Linked DNA regions of Homo sapiens: regions 2, 3 and 4 are each linked to region 1. Evidence: promoter capture Hi-C in 16 types of primary human blood cells and fetal thymus (Javierre and others, 2016). All regions are on one chromosome and are shown on one strand. The core of a region is centred on a gene start or on the middle of the fragment in contact, and the rest is flanking DNA. Distances in the headings are between cores, read along the strand shown. Region 1 holds the start of SLC17A4 (solute carrier family 17 member 4). Region 2 has its middle 56 kb from the start of CARMIL1. Region 3 has its middle 90 kb from the start of CARMIL1. Region 4 has its middle 38 kb from the start of CARMIL1.

Region 1 (5,378 bases), core at 171-2,670:
AAGGTGATGTAAGGTGTTGGAGCACCTTCAGGAAGGTGAATTTGCTCTCTTTTCTCCTAGGTTCTCTGGGAAGGCTTTGGAAGACTTTTACACCAGTAAGTAACATGATCATATGTACATTTCCAACATTCTGCCTGCTATGTGGGGTGGATTAAAAGAGAGAGAATGGAAACAGTGGGGCCCGGTAAATAATCATTTTATTTACCCTGGTGATAGATGATTGTGATAGGAATGGAGAAAATAAAAAATAATGGAAAGAGATGAAGGTGGAACTGATAGAACATACTGTTGGAATTAATGTTGATGGAAAGTATAGAATGAAGGCTGACTTTTTTTTGGCAAGATTAACAGGGAAATGGTAATGCCATTAACCAAGATGGGGGATCCTGGGCCAGGAGTAGGGTTGGAGGGAGATTCAGTTCTGCTTGCAGTCATAAGACTGAGATACCTAATGGGTACTCAAGGAGAGATGGATGAAGTTGAAGTCGAAGCTCAGAGAAGAGGTCAGAATTGGGTGTGAAAGGAAAGGGGACTGGCTGAGATCTCCTTGGGAGTGAGTTTAGATAGGGAGGAAGTTCAAGGACAGAGTCTTAGGCATATCAACATTAGAAACCAGAGAAAAGATAAGGATTCAGCAAAACGTATTGACAAGGAACAACCAATGAGACACGAGGAAAATCAGATCTGAATGAATTAAATGAAACAAGGCATCAAGAAGGAACGAGTGGTGGAATCTGTCAAGCACTGACAGATGGGGCCTGGGATGTGACCACTGGATTTGCTGGCAGAGAGGCTGGTGATGGCTTTGCTAAGGGCTGTCTTGTTGCTGATGGATTCATGAGAAAACTAGAGGTGGGGAACCAGAATGCAAATATGTATGAGTCTTCTGAAATGTTTTGCCATAAAAGGGAGGAGAATCACAGAGTTAATTTTCATGGAAAACTCAATGGCCTTTGTGCAAAAAATTACAATCAGAAAACCATAAAAATCACTCAAGTCGACCAAAATGTATTAAGTCTCTCCTCTTTGGAAAGCTCAGTTCTATTAAACAGCAGGATGGTGGAAAAGGGACTCAAAAGGGGCAAAATATACCCCATCTCCATGAAGATTATAATAACTCTGAGAGACCCCAGAAGGGGATAGTGCTGTCAGTGAAACATGTGGGGTGTCAGGATCCTTATAAGAAGGGACATTGATTCTGATTAAGGATGAGGGAAGACATAGGTGACCTCAGCTGGGCTTGAAGCATGAGGAAGATTTAATGAGCTTGATTTGATTATCAATCAAACAATAAAATGTAAAGTTAAAAATTAAACCACTGGGCCAATAAAATTCTCCAAGCTGGTAACATAAGGGCTAAAGGTTTTGGGTAATTATTTACCTCCCAGAATTAGACAATTGCAAAGAGCTTAGAATATTTATTTGAAAGGAATGAGGATCCTGCACTCTTCCTCCCTCAGGTTAGTTAGCTTTCAAACTTTTACCCTTAATATTCTGCTTTTGAGATGATGGGAATGGGTCTGTTTCTGTTAGAGAGCAGCTTAATTTGCTGTTTAGGGGCAGAGATTGTGGGAGTGGAGAAGAGAATGCCTGTGTCCTGAGATAATTCTGGTAAGTGAGAAGGGATGTTGCATTAAGAGCCCTGGAACTACAGGGAATTAATTCAAGAGAATGAAATTTTCTAAAAGTATAGCTGAACAGAGACAGACAGACAGACACACACACATACACACACACACACACACACACACACACACACACAGAGGAAGAAAGAGAGAGAGGAAGAGACAGAAACTAAATGATATATTTGGATTGTTTTTGTGAAGTACATTAATTTTTTTAAGCATTGATCAAATCCACAGTGAGACAATAAATGCCAATACTGAATTCTCAGAGAGGAAGATTTTCATCATGCCTAAAAAATTAATGAAAACCAAACGGTTCTGGTTTGGTTCCAGCGAATTTATGGGAAAGCAAAATAAATGAAATCTAATATGGCTTTGGGAAGTAGTTAATGATGAAGAGTTTAGGGCAGAGGACTTTATTTGCAAACTGTGAATAAGAGCCATGGGCTGTTTCTCATAAGGAGGAAAAATGTTCAGTGCTGAGACCACCTAAGATGACATTTGAGCTGTTAATAGCTCTGCCCAGCACCTTAAGGAAAAGTCTCATTCTACAGTGGACTGATAACTAGCAGAGGAACAGGGTGCATATGAATCCAAAAAGAACAGACACAAGCAGTCTTGGCAAGAAAAACTGATGAGAAATTGATATAAGAATGGCTGGCTCCATTTCTTTGCTGTTTTTTCCTCATTTACCTGGTTTCAAAATAAATAGATAAGGCTGATGACTCACACATTTATATTTCTACAAAGGCCCTTCTGTTCTTAGCTATGGACTCACAGACACAAAACTTACCTGTCAATCTTCCCTTCTGGGTCTAACAGGAGTCTCAACCCCAAGTGTCCAAAATAAAGTTCTTGCTTTTCCTCTGGAACCTGTTGCCCTCCCTGCTCATTTCGCCAACTTCTTTGAGTGCAACACTATTCACTCATTTGCTCAAGCCGTAAGTCTAGAAGTCTCTGATGATTCTTCCCTTTCTCTCATTCCCATATACACCTCATTAGCAAGTCTTAGTGGCATATCTCCAAAACAGGTCCTGAATGTGGTCTTTTTCACCACAACTAGCCTAGCCCATCCACCATCAACACTTGTACAGGTGAAGAAACAACTTCTTGTTCAGTCTCTTGGTTCTCAATCTTGTCCTTTACAGCCCATGTGCCACACAGTGGCCATAGTAGATCCAGTCCCCTTACCAGGCCTATAGGACCCAAAATGGTCTGGCCATTTTGGGAGATCGAGACCATCCTGCCCACCCCTTTGATCTCATCTCCTACCATTAACCTCCTCATTCACTCTGCATCGCCATGTTGGACTACCTTCTGCCTAGAAAAACGTGACAAACTTGCTGGTTCCTCTGCCTGGAATTGTTCTTGCTCAGCGCTGTCTCCTTCTCAGTGTTCCCGTTTCAGCTCAAATATAACCATTTCACACAACCACACTAGGTAAGTGGTTAGACTAGGCAGAGTGCTTGCCCTCCTCTCCTGATGCTAATGACCTAGTTGCTGTCAATGCTACTCTTGTTTTTTTCATACCATGTGGCATTCTTACTTCTTTCTTTTCATATGTGCCCCTCCTGGGATGTAACTTTCTCGCAGGTGTACTGTCTGTGCCTGCATCACGCTGTCCCCACAACAGCACTGTCCTCCCTTCACCCTCGGCTGTCTGTTCCCACTGCTCTCATTAACGCCAGCAAAACCATTATCGCCTGTTACTGAAAAAACTGGCAATTGATTTCTGGTTATAATAAGTAAAAGGAGAGGGCAATTTAATGAGAACTAAGTTCTTCAGTCATGCAGGAGATGGAGCTATGAAAGCACAACATTGCATTCATTGATTCAATAAATATTTACTGAATCAATGAATGAACTTGCGGCCAGTGAACTCTTAGACATTGGAACACTCGAAGAGTCTGTGTGGGTATAGCTTGTGGAAAAAAATGTTGCCCTGAAAGCTATGTCTTTAGTTCTTGTGACTGATATGATTTTTTCAATTCAACTAATTGCCCTGAGGTGTGAAAATAAATGATAAGCAAATTATTTTTCCAGCAGACTATTCAGTCCCCTCATTTTACCAAGTTTCTTTTCAGAATTACCAGAACCATTCCATTTGCCAATGAGTATTTGTTTGGATTTCAATTCAATTTTGAGTGTGTTTTCGAATTCCAGTGCAGACTAGAGGGTTCCATGGTCTAACATCTGTGGTTTTGAATGACATCATTGAGGCAACTTCTCTGTCAGTTGCTTACTTACCAGCTTTAGTGGTACGTTACATAACATTTCCACTTATCTTTAAACACAATAGCACCAAAGGATCAGGTCTATTTTCTTTTATATTAATAAGAATAGTCCTTCACAGAGAGCACATGGAAAATGATTTCATTTCACCAGCACCTACTGCTTATCCCTTTACATTTTATTCCTTTACATCTGCTTGGTGCTGTAACTTTATATCTGCTTGGTGCTGTAACTTCTCTGATCATTGTCAGTAGTAATAGATTTATTGCTTATTTGTAGTCTTCAAATAATCTCATTTTTTAATTAATAGGTCCAGTCCAGTGAAAACCAGAAAATTCCAAACTTGATCTAAAAGTATACCTTCTTTCCCCTGCCCCCCAACCCGCTGCTCCAGTTTGGGCCTGGGGAGGGAAGGGATCATTTGGTTGGTTTCTTGATCCCTTTCTCTGTCAGCAACTCCTCTCACCCCTCTTGCTAGCTGTGGCTTCTGATCTTTCCAGGGCTGGTGGGTAGGGAGTTAGAAGCAAGAAGCAGGAAGTGTCTTTCTTAGCTGGAGCTCTTGTGACCTGGCATTGGTGGTCTCTGGGTTGGATGAATGTTCAATGCTGAATCCTTTATTGTACCCCACTGGGGGCATCCACCAGTCCTCCCATGTCAGGGGTGATATGTGTTCACTAACTCAGCAGTTAGGGTTCCTTTCTCAGGTGTTGGGCATCAGGCAGTCCGCCCTGTCTTTTGGGGTCGTGTGGCTTCTCCAGACAGTTGTCATTTAAGAGATTGTAAACTGGATTTTTCCTGAGTCATCCGTATCTGGTTCACAAGGGACCTGCTGGTCTCCACCTGTGCTTCTTCACCTCTGCTGCCGTGGGACGTATCACAGCCTCCAGTGTGGTGTAGACCTTTGCTGTGCTCTGCAGCCTCAGACCAAGAGTCACCACCTCATGCCCTTAGATTCTGAGGCATGTGTCACTCACCTTTATGCACACACATGCACACACACATAGGGGACATATGTCAAGCTCCCTGAATGACCTCCTTGCAGGCAGCTCCTATAATTTGACTTGAAGTGACGGGGCAGTGCCCTCCTCCTTTCTTTCCTGGAGTGAGAGTGAATACCTGACAGAGAATACCAGCAACTGTCTCTAAAAACATTCTCACCTTTTTCATCTCAGCCTACCTGTGTCCCTGAAATTTATTTTTAATTACAGTAATAATTCAAATTACATTATTGTTGTAACACATGTAAACACCAAAGACAAAGTTCAATGCCTGCATGGCCGTTCCTACCCTCCCCATTCCTTTGCAGAGAGAGTTTCTATTTCTTCCTGGTTTAATCTAGGAGGGTTTTATATTTCCAGGAATTTATCCATCTCCTCTAGGTTTTCTAGTTTACACACGTAAAGGTGTTTATAGTAGTCTTGAATGATATTTTGTATTTCTCTGGTATCAATTTTAATATCTCCCGTTTTGTTTCAAATTGAGCTTATTTGGATCTTCTCTCTTTTTTCCTTGGTTAGTGTC
Region 2 (5,063 bases), core at 2,221-4,720, 530 kb before region 1:
ACATTCCAAGTATACTCAGTTGGACTTCCCTGTAGGAAGTTTTGAACCATTGCTAGTATCCAACTACTTCTAATTTAGAAGATTTGGTCAGTTATTTATAAGTTTCTGAAAACCAACAACATGGAGAAAAAAGCAGTCTGTTGTAACTTTTCAAGTGTGTTATGCCAAGGACATGTCAACAGATCAGTGCCAGCCAGAAACTGCACACCTTTGTGGATCTGATGCAATATAAATACAACTCCAAGCTCATAGACATTTTAAAACAAGTTGCTTTCAATGAAACATATCTAGCTGAATAGCATAAATAACACTCGGACTATTTTATGTCCTCAGCCTCTGTTATCCATCAGAAACCAGATTGACATCCAGTGAGTTCTAACTCCAGGCCTGATTTTCGCCTTAGCTTTGGATGCTGTATAAATTAGCTTGCAGAAGGTTGCAGAATAAAACTGAACGTTCAGTGTCAGCAGGTTGACATGGAGGCACTGATGCACATTCCTTGTACTGTCATTTCAAACCAAATTGTTTTTGATCTTAGAAGATGATTTTAAAATAAAATATAAAATAATCTTATATTTTAATATAGATATATGCATATATAAATTTTAAAATAAAATTTTAAATCATCAGCCATTAAAATAGAAACCGTGCTGCTACAAACAGCAACATATTGCATTTCACCTTATTCTGAGCACCATGTTATATGAGATATTTGAGGGAAAAATGAGCATTTAAGATACTTTAAGAATTTTCTCTATTCAAATTATTATATCAGAATAAAAATGAAACACATGGGGTTTGAACTTATGGGCTGCTATTTTAGTATATCAAATACAAAGTTAAAAATCAAAAACTCTTTCCCTATTTATTAGCTTCTGTTTCTATCTCAGATGCTAAAAGAAGTAGTGTGGTGTTTTTATGAAAAGAAAATATCAATGTTTCCCTTCTTCACTGTTAATGTAAATGACTCACAATTTTTTTTAACCTATAACAGTATAGGTAAGTTAAGTCTCTTATTTCTTATATGATTATTACAATATAGCCAGATAATATGGTTCATATAACTTAGATTCTTAAACATTTTGACTTTAAAGACTTTCTTTGTGACCTAGTACCTGGAGCAGGAGTGAGGTAAGGTAATATTTGAAACTTGAATAGGATATGATTGGAGTTTTAAACAAAATGATGTTTAATAACCAAACTGATCCTGACATTATTAAATCTCCCCAAGATTTCATTAAGTGTCAGGAAAAGGATATTTTGCAGAGCCCAGGTAAAAGCAATGACAGGAAAAAATAATGTCTTCCTACTTTCATTGTCCAGTGAAGCAAGATTGCTCAATAAACCAATTATAGTAGGTCCTCAATTCATGCTTGTTGAAAATAATCTCTAGTTTTAATCTTTTATCTTCCATTGGATGCAAGCAGGGCTGGACTTAGACAAAATGAGAAAGTGGAAAAGTTTGTTTTTAGAATCTTCTTATCTTAGACAAAATTAGGAAGTGGAAAAGTTTGTGTTTAGTATCTTATCTCTGTCTCCAATTTCTGGCATTCCCTTCTGCCCACTTTTCTGCCCAGTCTTTGTTCAGGAGCCATCACTCCATATGCTTGTGGCTGACCCACTGGGAATCCTTAACAGAGCCTGGCACTCCACCCACACTGCCCTAGGTATGCCTCCAGAGCCATGCACAGATATTCACCTACTTTCCCTCCCTTGGTATCAGCAAGACCTTGCTAATATTACAGAGCACATCTCTAGTAGTGTTCAGGGAAATATTCTGGCTTAATGAAGTCCCAGGCTGTAAATAACATTTGTAGGAACAGTTGCAACTTTGAAGAACCGCTATAAGGGCTAAGGAAGGACACTCTACATTGCATTCAAGGGTCTCTGTGTCTCCCCTTAGTGGGCAAGGAAGCTGCCATTTTTCCTCCTCTAGAGCAAGTCTTATCTTCTCATCCTTCTAGTGAGGCCACTGGGCCTCTTATTCGAGATTCTTTCTTTTCTCTTTTTCTTCTCTGTCATCCCAATTAGCTTTCAGAGTGTCTATGATAAAAAAGAAAAAGACAATCTACAATTCAAAAAATTAAAAATTATACTAGAGTTTATGCCTGTAAGTGATCTTTTGATAATAAAACATGTAGGATTTTAAAATTTTGATACTCAATTTTTACAAAAACAAAACTGAAATGTACACCACTGTTTCACAGAGGATATCTTATAAGAGAATTAGAATGGCTGAATCTGAACTTGGCTTCCATAGCTTCTCACATCCAGAAATTCCAAATAAATAAAGTAACTCAAACAACGGCAGTCTGACAACTCCTATCAGACCTGGAGGACACAGGGACCCATCTTCCATGTGTTAAAGGGTGAGGAAGAAAGTAAAATAGGAAAACAAAAAAAGTATGCTTTATCCAAGGGCCTATGTCTTCCCCAAATGACTTTACATTCAGAATCTCTTTGCCTAACTCTCCCCAATTTGAGAGGTATTTTTCTTCAAAATCCTGATCCTGCTTTCATTCCATTCCCTGTTTAGTATAAATTCCTGGCTAAACACACTTGGTCTCAGAGAACCATGTCAAAGGTTACTAAGGTCAAAAAAGCTTTTCTTATTTTCTGACAGTCCCTGAGGTCCTGAGAGAATGCATTCTTCTTTTGTTTGGCTGGTAAATAGGAAGTTCTGCATTTTACTTTCCCCAACAAGGAAGCAAATATTTTCTTATTGTCTTATTCTGTGGCTGTATTAAAGAAAAAAATCAGCATTTCCAGAGCTCTATGCTAACAGGCCACTGGGTGGCAGTCCTGAGCTGTAATGCAGAAGAGAAGAGTCAGGAAAAACCTGTAAACCAGAGCGGGAGATATAATAATGTTCAGGAGATAACAACGTCATCAAAGATCAACTACTTTCCACCAATAGAGCCTAATTAAATGAAAGGAATCATACCAGGAAAAAATGGAGGTAGTATCATACGTTTAAATTAAAACTGCCCAAGACGCTTAGATAAAATTGGCAGAAAAGCATCCCTCCTTCCACTTTCATTATCACCAAGGTAACATGGTCCAGAGTGGAGCTGAATGTCAACCCAGTGCTAATGGGCAGGCTTCTTCCTACTCAATTTTCCCTTTTTCACCAGGACTTCAGAATAAAGCACTAGAACTCACACTGTCCTGCTCTGCAAGCTCCAACCCCAGATTAATCCTGAAATCCCCCTTCTCTGCTTCTATATCTTAGTGATTTGGGGCTTCTAGAGAGAAGTACAACCGTGGGAACTGGTATCTTCACAAAGGTATACTTTCCGATTTCAGAAGAATACTCCATTCATCTTGTCAATACTTCTCCTTATCTAAAAACAGCATCTCTCCCCTCATCCCTTCTCCTTCCCTCACTCCTCTCTATAGCGAGAATCTCATACCTTCAGTTCTGTCCATCCCCTGTCAGCAAGTGATCTTGCCCCCACAGAGACTACTGAGCCCACAAACCCTCAAATCTTCACTCTTCCATCCCACCCCCATACACATCCTGCCCCCATACAGGTTTATCTTCATTTTCACTCATTCTTGCTTCCTGTCCCACCAATCACAAGAAATAGAACAGCTGCCCTCCTCTCCCCTCCAGGTGTCTCCCAGCATTTCACCACATGCATCAATTTCTGTGTCTACATAAACTGTTTGCCCCGCCCCCACCCCCGAATGCTAATATGACAAGAGGACATATTAGAGGAGAATCGAATTCTCTTAGCAAATGGCATGAAAATTCCTTTTGGAGATTTCTTAGAAAAATTCATGGATAAGCCCATTGAGGTTGAAGGCGAGACCTTGACTCTGGGTTGATCACTCAGTTCTAGACAAGAAAAGTAATTCCTTGCTCTAAAGGAGGAGGAAGTTGGGAAAAACGGAGGAGGAGCCAGCAGGATGGCAGAGGGCAGTGTGGTTGGGCGTATAACCCCTCTCCAGGAGCACCTCCAAACTACCTTAAAGTTCCTTGTTAAATTGTTAACTCAATAGATTACCATTAACATGAGTGTTTGTGTAGAAACTGGCGAGAAGGCTGAGATTCGCACTGTGGTGCCACAAGATGGATCTGAAACCACAGGTACAGATGTGGCAGGGGACACAAAGAGAAGCATGAGGGAGCAAGCCTCAGAAATTTAGGGAAATCATAAAAGGAATCTTGGACTGTGGCTTTGGACCAGGTTTACAAAGATGGACCAACATCTCACAGAGCCAGGGAGGCCCCAGCTGACATTGGCTTGCTCTAGCTTCTCCCATCCTAAACAAAAGCCTCTCTACCCTGAGCCCTTTTTCACTTTCTCCTTCTGTCATCATCCAACTCTCTCAGAAGCTTGGTCTGTACTTGTGGCAGCTTCAGCACCTCCCAATAATTTCTCAAACTTCTGCTGACTGTTCTCACCAAGGTCATCAATGATGTCCTCATGAGGAACATTCTCAGTCCTTGTCTCACAGAACAGTTCTTCTTCATTAGGCACCACTGATAACTTTCATCTTATCTCTCCTTGGGTCTCTGACCTTTCCAGTTGCCTTCACCATGGGCTGCTCCTCTTCTTTCTGCTGCTTAAATGTCAGTGTTAGGGATTGAGGAGGTGCATTTCCAACCAGCATCTGAAAGACTTATGATGTTCACCAAACTAGGGTTAACAAGCCTGTGAGTTGAATTTGACTACAATTGAGTCAAACTGAATGGTGCAATCAGAGTGTGAATGAAGGAAAATAAAGAAACCAAGGGAGGAAACATTATAAATGGCAGGGAAGGGAGGCCAAGAATGTTCTTGAGAATATTAAGAATATTCTGAGAATAAAAGAAACAAGCTGGGTATGGTGGCTCACACCAGCAATCCTAGCACTTTAGGGAGCTGAGGCAGAAGAATTGCTTGAGCCCAGGAGTTCAAGACCAGCCTGGGCAAAATAGCGAAATCTTGTCTCCACTAAAAATACAAGAAATTAGCTAGGCATGGTGGTGTGCATCTGTGGTCCCAGCAACCCAAAGGCTGAGGTGGGAGGATCACTTGAGCTTGGGAGGTCGGGGCTGCAGTGAGCCAAGATTG
Region 3 (4,836 bases), core at 220-2,719, 570 kb before region 1:
TGGCCAAAATGCAGTAAGAAAGACCAGATTTATCCTCCTCTCTGAAACAACAACAAAAAGACAAATACGTGAAACAGCGAGTCTTAGAACAAATTAGACAATGAAGAATGGTGATCTCCAAGAAACAGGAAATAAATGATGTGAGCCAATGATTGCCCCAGTATACTATTTGGAGGAAGTTTTTTCAGGTCACAGGGCAGGGAAGAGGCACCTTTGTGGAGGTATCCTGGAACTGAGGAGACAGCTGAGAGTCTGGAGAGTAAGGTGGCTAGAGTGCCTAGGGCAGAGCACCAAAGACATGAGAGCTGCCCTGGGAAAACTTGAAGACCTACAGAAGGTCCCCCTCAAACATTCAGCTAAGTGCTGATCAGTGCATGTGTGTGGGAGAATGCCCAAGGTCAGGGGAAGAACCACTAAATTAACGTGAGGAAACAATCATCAGAGCTCACATAGTGCTAGAAAGGGTGAAAACTTGTGAATCTGTCTTCTGGGAATGTCAGGCTCTGTGACAGTCACACAGAGGTCAGTCTCTGCATACCCAAGACTTAAAAACATCTGTGAAATTGAACCGCTAACTCAGCAAGTGTTTCAGCAGGTGAGTCAACTATGTACCAAGCACTTGGAGCCATTAATAACACCCTACCAACCTGACTCAAAGTGTTGCTCAGGAAAAGTCTCTCTTAAGTGGGAACACCTCCCATGCTCATCAAATGCCACCATCCCCCAAAAGCTTCCTCCACACCAGCCATCTTTCTGGGTACTCCTCCTAGCTTGCCACCCCTAAGCCCTGGGACTTTTCCTTCCTGCTCTTTCCCATCAATACTGCCCTGTCTCATTCCTTCAGGACCTGGCCCCTCTGCTACTCAAAGTGGCAGCAAGCCTTCTCATAGCCTAACCAGCGCAAATGAGTGAGAAGCTGAGAGTTAAAGTGATTTCACCCAGTCACTCTCCTTCTCAGTGCAATGCGTTATGTAGTAGCAGTAGGGGTTTTCAGGAAATGCATGATCTCAACACGGAATAGCTGCCGTGTGGACATTGCTGGTATGCTAGCAAACAGAGTGAGGAAGAGTTTGGAGCAAGCAGGCATGACCATGCCCCCTTAAATCCCATCAAAGACAAAGTGACATTTTTCTCCACACATAATCCACCCCTGGGAAGATGCAGGACAGAGTCACAGAGCATTTCACATGTGTTAGGGGAATGTCCTATGTGTTTGGGGAAAACAAAAGGAAGATAGGAAGGAGGAAAAAATAAAGGAGATTCAGTCAACAAGCACTAGTTGAATATCCTACACATGCCAGGTACTGCTCTAGGTTTTGGGGTTATAGCAGTGAACAAATGGTTTTGTTCCTTTTATACTACCATGGAAATTTCCACCTTGGAGGACACAGAACTTTGAATGTGTCTTTGTAAGAAGTTTCCCAGATAAGTTTGATTGTCAGGCAATTTGAGGAACCACTATTGAAGCAACAGTTGAGATTCTTCTCATTGATCCAAAAAGCAACCTACAATACTCATGGCTGTTGACTTTGGAAAACAGTTTTATTGAATATCAAGGTGCTATCTTTCTTCACACAGTCTACCAAAGGTTTGCTTTGATGTCCTCCTAATCCTTCTCCAAACACTGAGGCCCCTCCCAATCTACTCCATATACTTATGCTTTGTGTATCAGGTCCCACCTGCACCTCTTAGAAAGTACCCCAACTCCCAATTATTTATCAGTCTCTTCACCACATGCCCATCAATTATATTTAGCAATATAATACGTACTGAGGACTTTTGATAAGAGGTATGTTCCTTCTGATTTATACATATTTTCTCATGTCATCCTAAAACTTTATGTAGTGGGTATTATCCTGCAGAAGAGGAAAGTGAGACAGACAGATTATATAACAAGACCATTGTTACTGAGAATGAGGTCATTCTTTATGTATTAACATGACCTTCCATCTTTCTACTGTGCCTCCATCATACTGAATAATACCTTAAGTTTTGAAATTGAGAGGGAGAAGAGGGAGAGAGAGAGAAAAGGAGAGAGACCTAGAGGGAATTGGGGGAAGAGAGGGGGAGAGGCTCTTAAATACAACACCTCTTCCATTTACTTGATATATGAACTTCACCTCTTAAAGCCTCTTTTCCACATCTGCAACAGAGAAATAATGACTCCTACTCTATGTAGGTTGTGGGGTTTAAATGAGGTTATGGATATAAAGCTTCTAAGTACTGCACTTGCTACATGATAAGCTTAAGTATGTGATAATAACAGCCCTATATCCATATACTCTGTTTTTTCTTCAGTTTTTTTTTTTTAAACCAGTATCTGACATTATATTGTGTGCGTGGTAGGTGGGTGTATTATCTCTCTGTCCCACTGTATTTTTTTTTTTTTTGAGACAAAGTCTCACTCTTGTTGCCCAGGCTGGAGTGCAATGGCATGACTTCGACTCAACGCAGCCTCTGCCTCCCAGGTTCAAGTGATTCTCTTGCCTCAGTCTCCCAAGTAACCAGGATTACAGACGTACGCCAACACACCCAGCTAATTTTTGCATTTTTAATAGAGACGGGGTTTCACTATGTTGGCCCAGGCTGATCTTGAACTCCCAACCTCAGGTGATCCACCCGCCTCAGCCTCCCAAAGTACTGGGATTACAGGCATGAGCCACTGCACCGTGCTGTCCCATTGTATATCATAAGCTCCACATGAGAAGGAATTTTGCCACATTTACCTCTGTATCCACAGTGCTTACAATGATGGCTGGCTTCTAGTAGGCACACTTTAAGTATTTGTTGAAGGAATGGTTGTTATGACCATAATCTTCCCTACAGCACCTTACTACAAACATAGTAGTTGCCCTACGAATGCTTTCTATGTGGTTTGCAGTAAATAGAATGCAAAACCCTTATTATCATACTATATTGCCACCCATCTCAGCTAAACTGAATGAATAAATAACCTTCTGGCTGGGGTAACCTATTTGAAGATAGAGGTCACAAAAACAAAGAGGGCATTTAATAAATATTGATTATTCATTACATTGCCTGCTTTCTACCCTGGCCTCTAGGAAAAAAAAAGTTCAGTGAATGTCATTCCTTCTAAGATGTATATTTAAACCTTTAAGATCTCCCGTATTTTTATAAATTTCCTAAAATATTGTATTATTTTTACAAATGGAAACAAAATTTTAATTGAGAAAAAATAATACAATAACTTAGCATGGAAAAAAGCACTGCACTCTAACCTGGGCGATAGCTCAAGACCCTGTCTCAAAAAAAAAAAAGAGAGGGTATTTAAGGTAAAGTCAAATCTTTCTTGCTCCATCTCTAACATCTGTCCCTAGAGGCAGCCAAATGGTAGTTTGGCATTTATCAGGATGACCAGGATGTCAGATTCTGTCTTTTTGTGTTTGATGTTACCAACCATTAATGTTCAATTCTATGATTTATCATTTCATCAGGGGCTTGCAAAAGGGCAAAACTCCATCACTTCTTTTTCATACATTAACTATAATCCTTTGGTAAGATAAATTTCCCTTTACCTACAACTTGCTTACCCAGTTGTACAGTTTGCAAAGAAAAGAATACATAATATTTTTCTTTAATTATTTTTCAAAATAAGGAGTTGGTTTCCTAGGACCCTCTAATTTTAGTTACATTATGAACACATTGCGTTAAACATATTTGATGAGTTTGAATCCACTCATTACTTGTATTAGTGCTCATATCATCCCATTTTGGTCAGTGAGAAGCCTATTTTTTAACTGGCAAATAAAGTGTGTATATTTAGAGTATACATGATGTTATGATATATGCATACATTGTGGAATGGCTGAATAGAGCTAATTAACATATATGTTACCTCACATACTTTTTTTGTGGTGAGAACACTTAAAATTTGATCTCAGCAATTTTCAAGTATACAATATGTTAACTATAGTGAACACAATGGACAATAGATTTCTTGAATTTATTCCTCCTGTCCAACTGAAATTTTGTATCCTTTGACTAACATCTTCCCAATTCGCCCATCTCCCAGCCTTTGGTAACCATCACTCTACTTTCTGCCTTGATGAATTTGACTTTTTTAAATCTTACAATTGCTATGTTGAAAGATGGTATTCCCTCCAAAACTCATGTTGAAACTTAATCCCCATGCAAAAGTATTAAGAGCTGTGGCCTTTGGAAGGTGATTCAGTCATGAGGGCTCTACCCTCATGAATGGAATTCGCACACTTAAAAGGGCTCAAGGTTGAAGGGAGAGTCCTCTTGCTCCTATGCTCTTCTGCCATGTGAGGACAGTGTTCTTCCCCTCCAAAGGATGCAGCAACTAGTTGCCAATTTGGAAGCAGAGATTGGGTCCTCACCATGTATCAAACCTGCCAGTGTCTTTTTCTTGAACTTCCCAGCCTCCAGAACTATGAGAAATACATTCCTGTTGAAAAATTACCAGTCTGTGATATTTTATTATACCAATATCAAACAGACTAAGACATACATATAAATGCGATCATGCAGTATTTGTCTTTTTGTGCTGGCTTATTTCATTTAATATAATGTGCTCTAGTTTCATCTATGTTGTCACAAATGACAGCATTTCCTTCTTTTTTTAAGGCTGAATAGTATTCCATTGTGTGTATATACACATTTTCCTTATCCTTTTATTCACGATAGATTGAGGTTGATTCCGTATCTTGGCTATTGTGATTAATGCTGCAATAAACATGGGAGTGCAGATATTCTCTTTTCAAATATCTCTGACACACTCACTTCAATTCCTTTGGATATATACCCATTAATGGGATTACTGGGTCATATGATAGTTCTATTTTAAATTTTGGG
Region 4 (4,748 bases), core at 210-2,709, 510 kb before region 1:
TATGCAGAAGAGTAATATACTTTCCTAAAGTATGTGACAGTTGTTGATAAATATAATTAATTTGAATTGTCAGTGTTTTGGTTGAATTGTGTGCTTAACAATCTCTAGGAAAACTAAAGAACAAACTGTCTGCCAAAAGTCTCAGAGAAACAGGATTATTACTTTGATGCTGGTTCCAAGGGCCTCCCTTAGCTTTCCTGGTAATAAATTATTGTCTCATATCACACTGGCAGAGAAAACAGTAAAATATTTATTTTGGAATATCTGCTTTCTATCTGGCAGGGATTTGACATTTTAAAACCTTTTCAAAATATTTTAGAACCACAAAATACAGTAAGCTTTGAATTAAGAATTAATTAGGGTTTTCTTTATCCCTACTGTTTGATCAATTTTTCAAAAGCCAAAAAAAAAAAAGTGCTACACAGAATACAATTAACTGTTAGTTTTCAGTAATTTTAAAGTGTGCTGTTGCTTAGAAGGCAGACTGGATCAGATGACCTCTTGGGATCCTTTCGAGCTCAGTAATTCTAACTTTTATATTCAATGAGTTTTATCTTGCACTTATCACCCATTGCTCAACCTGGCCCTTTCCTCTTTACCACATATTTTCTTTATGTCTTAATTTTCCTTTTATACTCACAGAGGGTGTCTAACCCTTTATTGGTATAATTATGGAAATGTTTTTATGTGAACATTAATCTAACAATGAAGGAGACAAGAGCAGAATGCCAGGTTCAGTAATGCTTATGCAGTCATGAGCATGAAACACTCTTAGAACATTTTATTTTATTTATTTACTTTTTTAAGACAGGGTCTTACTCTTTTGCCCAAGCTGGAGTGTAGTAGCGCAATCTCGGCTCACTGCAAAACCCCCTCCCCGGCTCAAGGGATCCTCCCAAGTCAGCTTCCTGAGGAGCTGGGATTAGCATGTGTTACCACACCTGGCTAATTTTTGTATTTTTAGTAGAGCTGGGGTTTCATCATATTGGCCAGGCTGGTCTCAAACTCCTGACCTCAAGTGATCCATCCATCTCGGACTCCCAAAGTGCTAGGATTATAGGCATAAGCCACCATGCCTCTTAGAACATTTTAAAAAATTAAGTCTTGGCTTGAAATCTGATGTAGTGTGACTATACTTGAGAATAATAGGAAATTTCCCAAATGCTAAAGACTTAAAGTACAAGAGAAAGTCAGTGTTCTTTTTTCATACATAACTTTCTACAGGAAAGATAAAAGAAAAACTATCACAATATTATGTATTATTTATCCTCGCTAGTTTATCAAACAACAGTTTTGTAATTTAATGAAATTCCTGTTTTCTATATGAGTATATTGCTCTAACATATGCTGTATATGATTAATGTTTCATTTGTTTGGCTAGTTACTGCTCATTGCTCTGTGTGTGTGTGTGTGTGTGTGTGTGCGAGACAGAGAGAGACCATGTTAAACACAGTATTATTCACCTGTTGTTCGCCTGTTGGTTAACGCTCTGGTATCCATGTCCCACTTAACCTTTCCCAACAGTCTACACTTCTATTGGAAATTTATTGTTACTCTACCCCCAACTATCCCATTATTTCAGGGATAAAATGAATGACATGTACTGCGCCCAAGAAAGTCTTATTGCCCTCATTGCAGTGATTAGATCAGTCATGGGTCTGTGGTCTAAGTCAAGTGCGAATTTCAGGATTTTTGCTGACAATTCTGGAACACATGTTTCTTTCTTTCTGTGTAGTGTGGGATGTGGATGTGAAGGGAGAACTGCTATCCTCACTTTGCCACCATATAGTATGTTCACCTCAGAATGAATCGAACACATTTTCTCTGACTTTACAATACAAAAAAATGTTTTTGAAGAATTGCCAGGCACTGTGGCTCATGCCTCTAATCTCAACACTTTGGGAGACCAAGGCAGGGAGATTACTAAAGGCCAGGAGTTCAAGACCAGACTGGCCAACATGGCAAAATCCCATCTCTACTAAAAATACAAAAAAATTAGCCAGGCGTGTTGGTGTATGCCTGCAGTGCCAGTTACTTAGGAGGCTGAGGCATGAGAATTGCCTGAACCTGGGAGATGGAGGTTGTAGTGAGCCAAGATCATGCCACTGCACTCCAGCCTGGGTGACAGAGCAAGACCTTGTCTCAAAAGAAAAAAGAAAAAGCAAACAAAAAAGAAGAAATTGGGCAGGCCCAGTGGCTCACACCTGTAATCCCAGCACTTTGGGAGGCTGAGGCAGGCAAATCACCTGAGGTCAGAAGTTTGAGACAAGCCTAGTCAACATGGTAAAACCCTGTATCTACTAAAAATACAAAAATTAGTCGGGCGTGGTGGTGCACACCTGTAATCTCAGCTACTTGGGAGGCTGAGGCAGGAGAATCACTTGATCCCCGGAGGCAGAGGTTACAGTGAGCTGCGACTGCACCACTGCACACTAGCCTGGGTGACAAAGCAAGACTTGTCTAAAAAAATAAATAAATAAATAAATCCAACACACAAGAGGCAAAATTAAAGAGAAATTTAACCCTGATTGATCTGTACCTAAAAGAATAATTTCCCTCTATTGTATAAGGAAGTTTGAATTAAGCTTTTGGTTACTTGCAACTGAAAATAAAACTACTGCAGGATCTCAGACGTGGATATGGCCTTGGAAGCACAGAAGAAGACAAATGGTTCTGGCCTTCTCCAGAAACAATACCTTGTAAGAACTTCTTGGTTTAGGAAGAGACTAAGGAAAGTATAAGAAGAGGAGATCTTTTACTTTCATTCATTGTTACTGACTTTTTGCTTAGTTGTTCTGTTCATTATTGAGAAGTATGTTTAAGTTTCCAACAATGATTGTGGATTTGTCTATTTCTGTCTTTAGTTCTGTCAGATGTTTGCTTCACACATTTTGAAGCTCTGTTAATTAGGCACATATACGTTTATAATTGCTCCATTTTACTGATGTATTTGACTTTTTTATTAGTATGAAGTATTTGTCTTTGTCTCTAGTAATACTTCTTTATTGAAGTCTATTTTGTTTAATCTTAATAAAATCACTCCAGTTTTCTCCAGTTTTCCATGCTACATATTTTTCTATCCTTTTACTTTTAATCTATTTGTGTCTTTGCATTTAAAATGCATCTCTTGTAGACACCTTATAATTGGTTCTTGATTTTTTTTTAATTCAGTCTTACAATAATCTCTGCCTTTTGGTTGTTTAGTTCATTTACATGTAATGCAGCAAAGGCCAGGCATGGTGGCTCACACCTGCAAACCCAACACTTTGGGAGGCTGAGGCAGGCAGATCGCTTGAGCCCAGGAATTTTAGACCAGCATGGGCAACATGGTGAAACCCCATCTCTACTACAAATACAAAAATTAGCTGGGCATGGTAGGATGCACCTGTAGTCCTAGCTACCCAGAAGGCTGAGATGGGAGAATCACCTGAGCCTGGGCAGCAGAGGTTGCGGTGAGCCAAGATCATGTCACTGCACTCCAGCCTGGGCCACAGAGTGAGACCCTGTCTCACAAACAAACAAACAAACAAAAACAAACAATATTTAATGCTACAAAGAAAGTTAACACAGCAGATTATTTTTATTTACTTCTTGCTTATTTCTGTAGCTATAACAGTGACTCTTGGTCTAATGCTAAGAACTAAAGTACTGTAATGTTTACCTCGTACTAGGTAATGATGTCATTCTATACACCCAATCCAGTAGGTCAATATGAACCAGGTGGTCAGCAGATTTAAAGTAAACATGAAGATTCATGATGTGCACCTGGTACCTGCTTTGGGGTATGCACAATGGCTACTGATGTGGCAGTTATGTATTAATGTGACACGCTCTCTTCAAGAATCTTGGACTCCAAGCCCCAAATGGGCTTTCCTGAATATGGAAATCTTGTATATGTCTTTACAATTTGAAGCTGGAGAGAGGATTACACCAGTGTGATAATCTTAGAAAGGGAGGACTCAGGAACCTGCACATGATCTCTCTAGCCTTTGCCTAGGTATATATTTTTCCTGCTGTTCCTGCTCTGTTATCTTGTGCTATGATAAACTTCAGCTATCCGGTTTAACTTCATGCTAAGTTGTGGTGAGTCCTCCAGTGAATCACCCAACTAGTGGGTGATTATGGGACCCCTGAGACAGATATAATTATTGAGATGGTGGTATTTATTTATTTTTTTATCTTTACTTTTATCTTTGAGACAGACTCTTGCTCTGTCACCCAGGCTGGAGTGCAGTGGTGTGATCTTGGCTCACTGCAACCTCCACCTCGTGGGTTCAAGCAATTCTCTTGTCTCAGCCTCCTGAGTAGCTGGGACTATAGGTGCATGCCACTATGCCTGGCTAATTGTTGTATTTTTAGTAGAGATGGGGTTTCACCATATTGGTCAGGCTGGTCTCGAACTCCTGACCTCAGGTGATCCACCTGCCTCAACCTCCCAAAGTGAAAGTTCTGGGATTACAGGTATGAGCCACCGTGCCTGGCTGAGATGGCTGTATTTAGATCTGCCATTCTGCTATTTATTGATTACTTGCTCAGTTATTTTTTGTTTCTCTTTTCATGCTTTGGTTTGTGTTAATCAATTATTATTTTATTTTAGTGTTTAATTTGTTCTTTTCTAATAATTTCTATTATTCTTTTGAGATTTCCTATCTGTTTACTACCTTTCATATTTTCCTATAATTCTTACAATATATTTTCTTTTAATCTTTTGACAATTTTAATAATAGCTACTTTGAAGTCTTTTTATG

Evidence for each region. The method cuts DNA at HindIII sites, captures the fragments that hold promoters and counts their contacts. A CHiCAGO score of 5 or more calls a contact.
Region 2: a fragment that was not itself captured here is called in contact with the fragment with the promoter of SLC17A4 in region 1 in 5 of 17 cell types (megakaryocytes, erythroblasts, M2 macrophages and 2 more); the score reaches 9.3 in megakaryocytes.
Region 3: a fragment that was not itself captured here is called in contact with the fragment with the promoter of SLC17A4 in region 1 in 2 of 17 cell types (M1 macrophages and megakaryocytes); the score reaches 6.9 in M1 macrophages.
Region 4: a contact is called between a fragment that was not itself captured here and the fragment with the promoter of SLC17A4 in region 1, in 5 of 17 cell types (megakaryocytes, M1 macrophages, erythroblasts and 2 more). The highest score is 9.2, in megakaryocytes.

Annotation. Positions count from the first base shown.
Region 1 is chr6:25,753,322-25,758,699 of GRCh38, forward strand. SLC17A4 (solute carrier family 17 member 4) reads left to right here and starts at 1,421. Exons shown (of 12, transcript NM_005495.3): 1 at 1,421-1,460. It also overlaps a transcript of SLC17A1 not described here. The HindIII fragment of the contact is 7,086 bases long and covers 1-5,378 here.
Region 2 is chr6:25,220,864-25,225,926 of GRCh38, forward strand. It overlaps the pseudogene LOC100533655. Among named protein-coding and RNA genes, the nearest start is that of CARMIL1, 56 kb to the right of the region's middle. The HindIII fragment of the contact is 1,739 bases long and covers 2,602-4,340 here.
Region 3 is chr6:25,186,516-25,191,351 of GRCh38, forward strand. No RefSeq gene overlaps it. Among named protein-coding and RNA genes, the nearest start is that of CARMIL1, 90 kb to the right of the region's middle. The HindIII fragment of the contact is 1,483 bases long and covers 729-2,211 here.
Region 4 is chr6:25,239,087-25,243,834 of GRCh38, forward strand. No RefSeq gene overlaps it. Among named protein-coding and RNA genes, the nearest start is that of CARMIL1, 38 kb to the right of the region's middle. The HindIII fragment of the contact is 2,247 bases long and covers 337-2,583 here.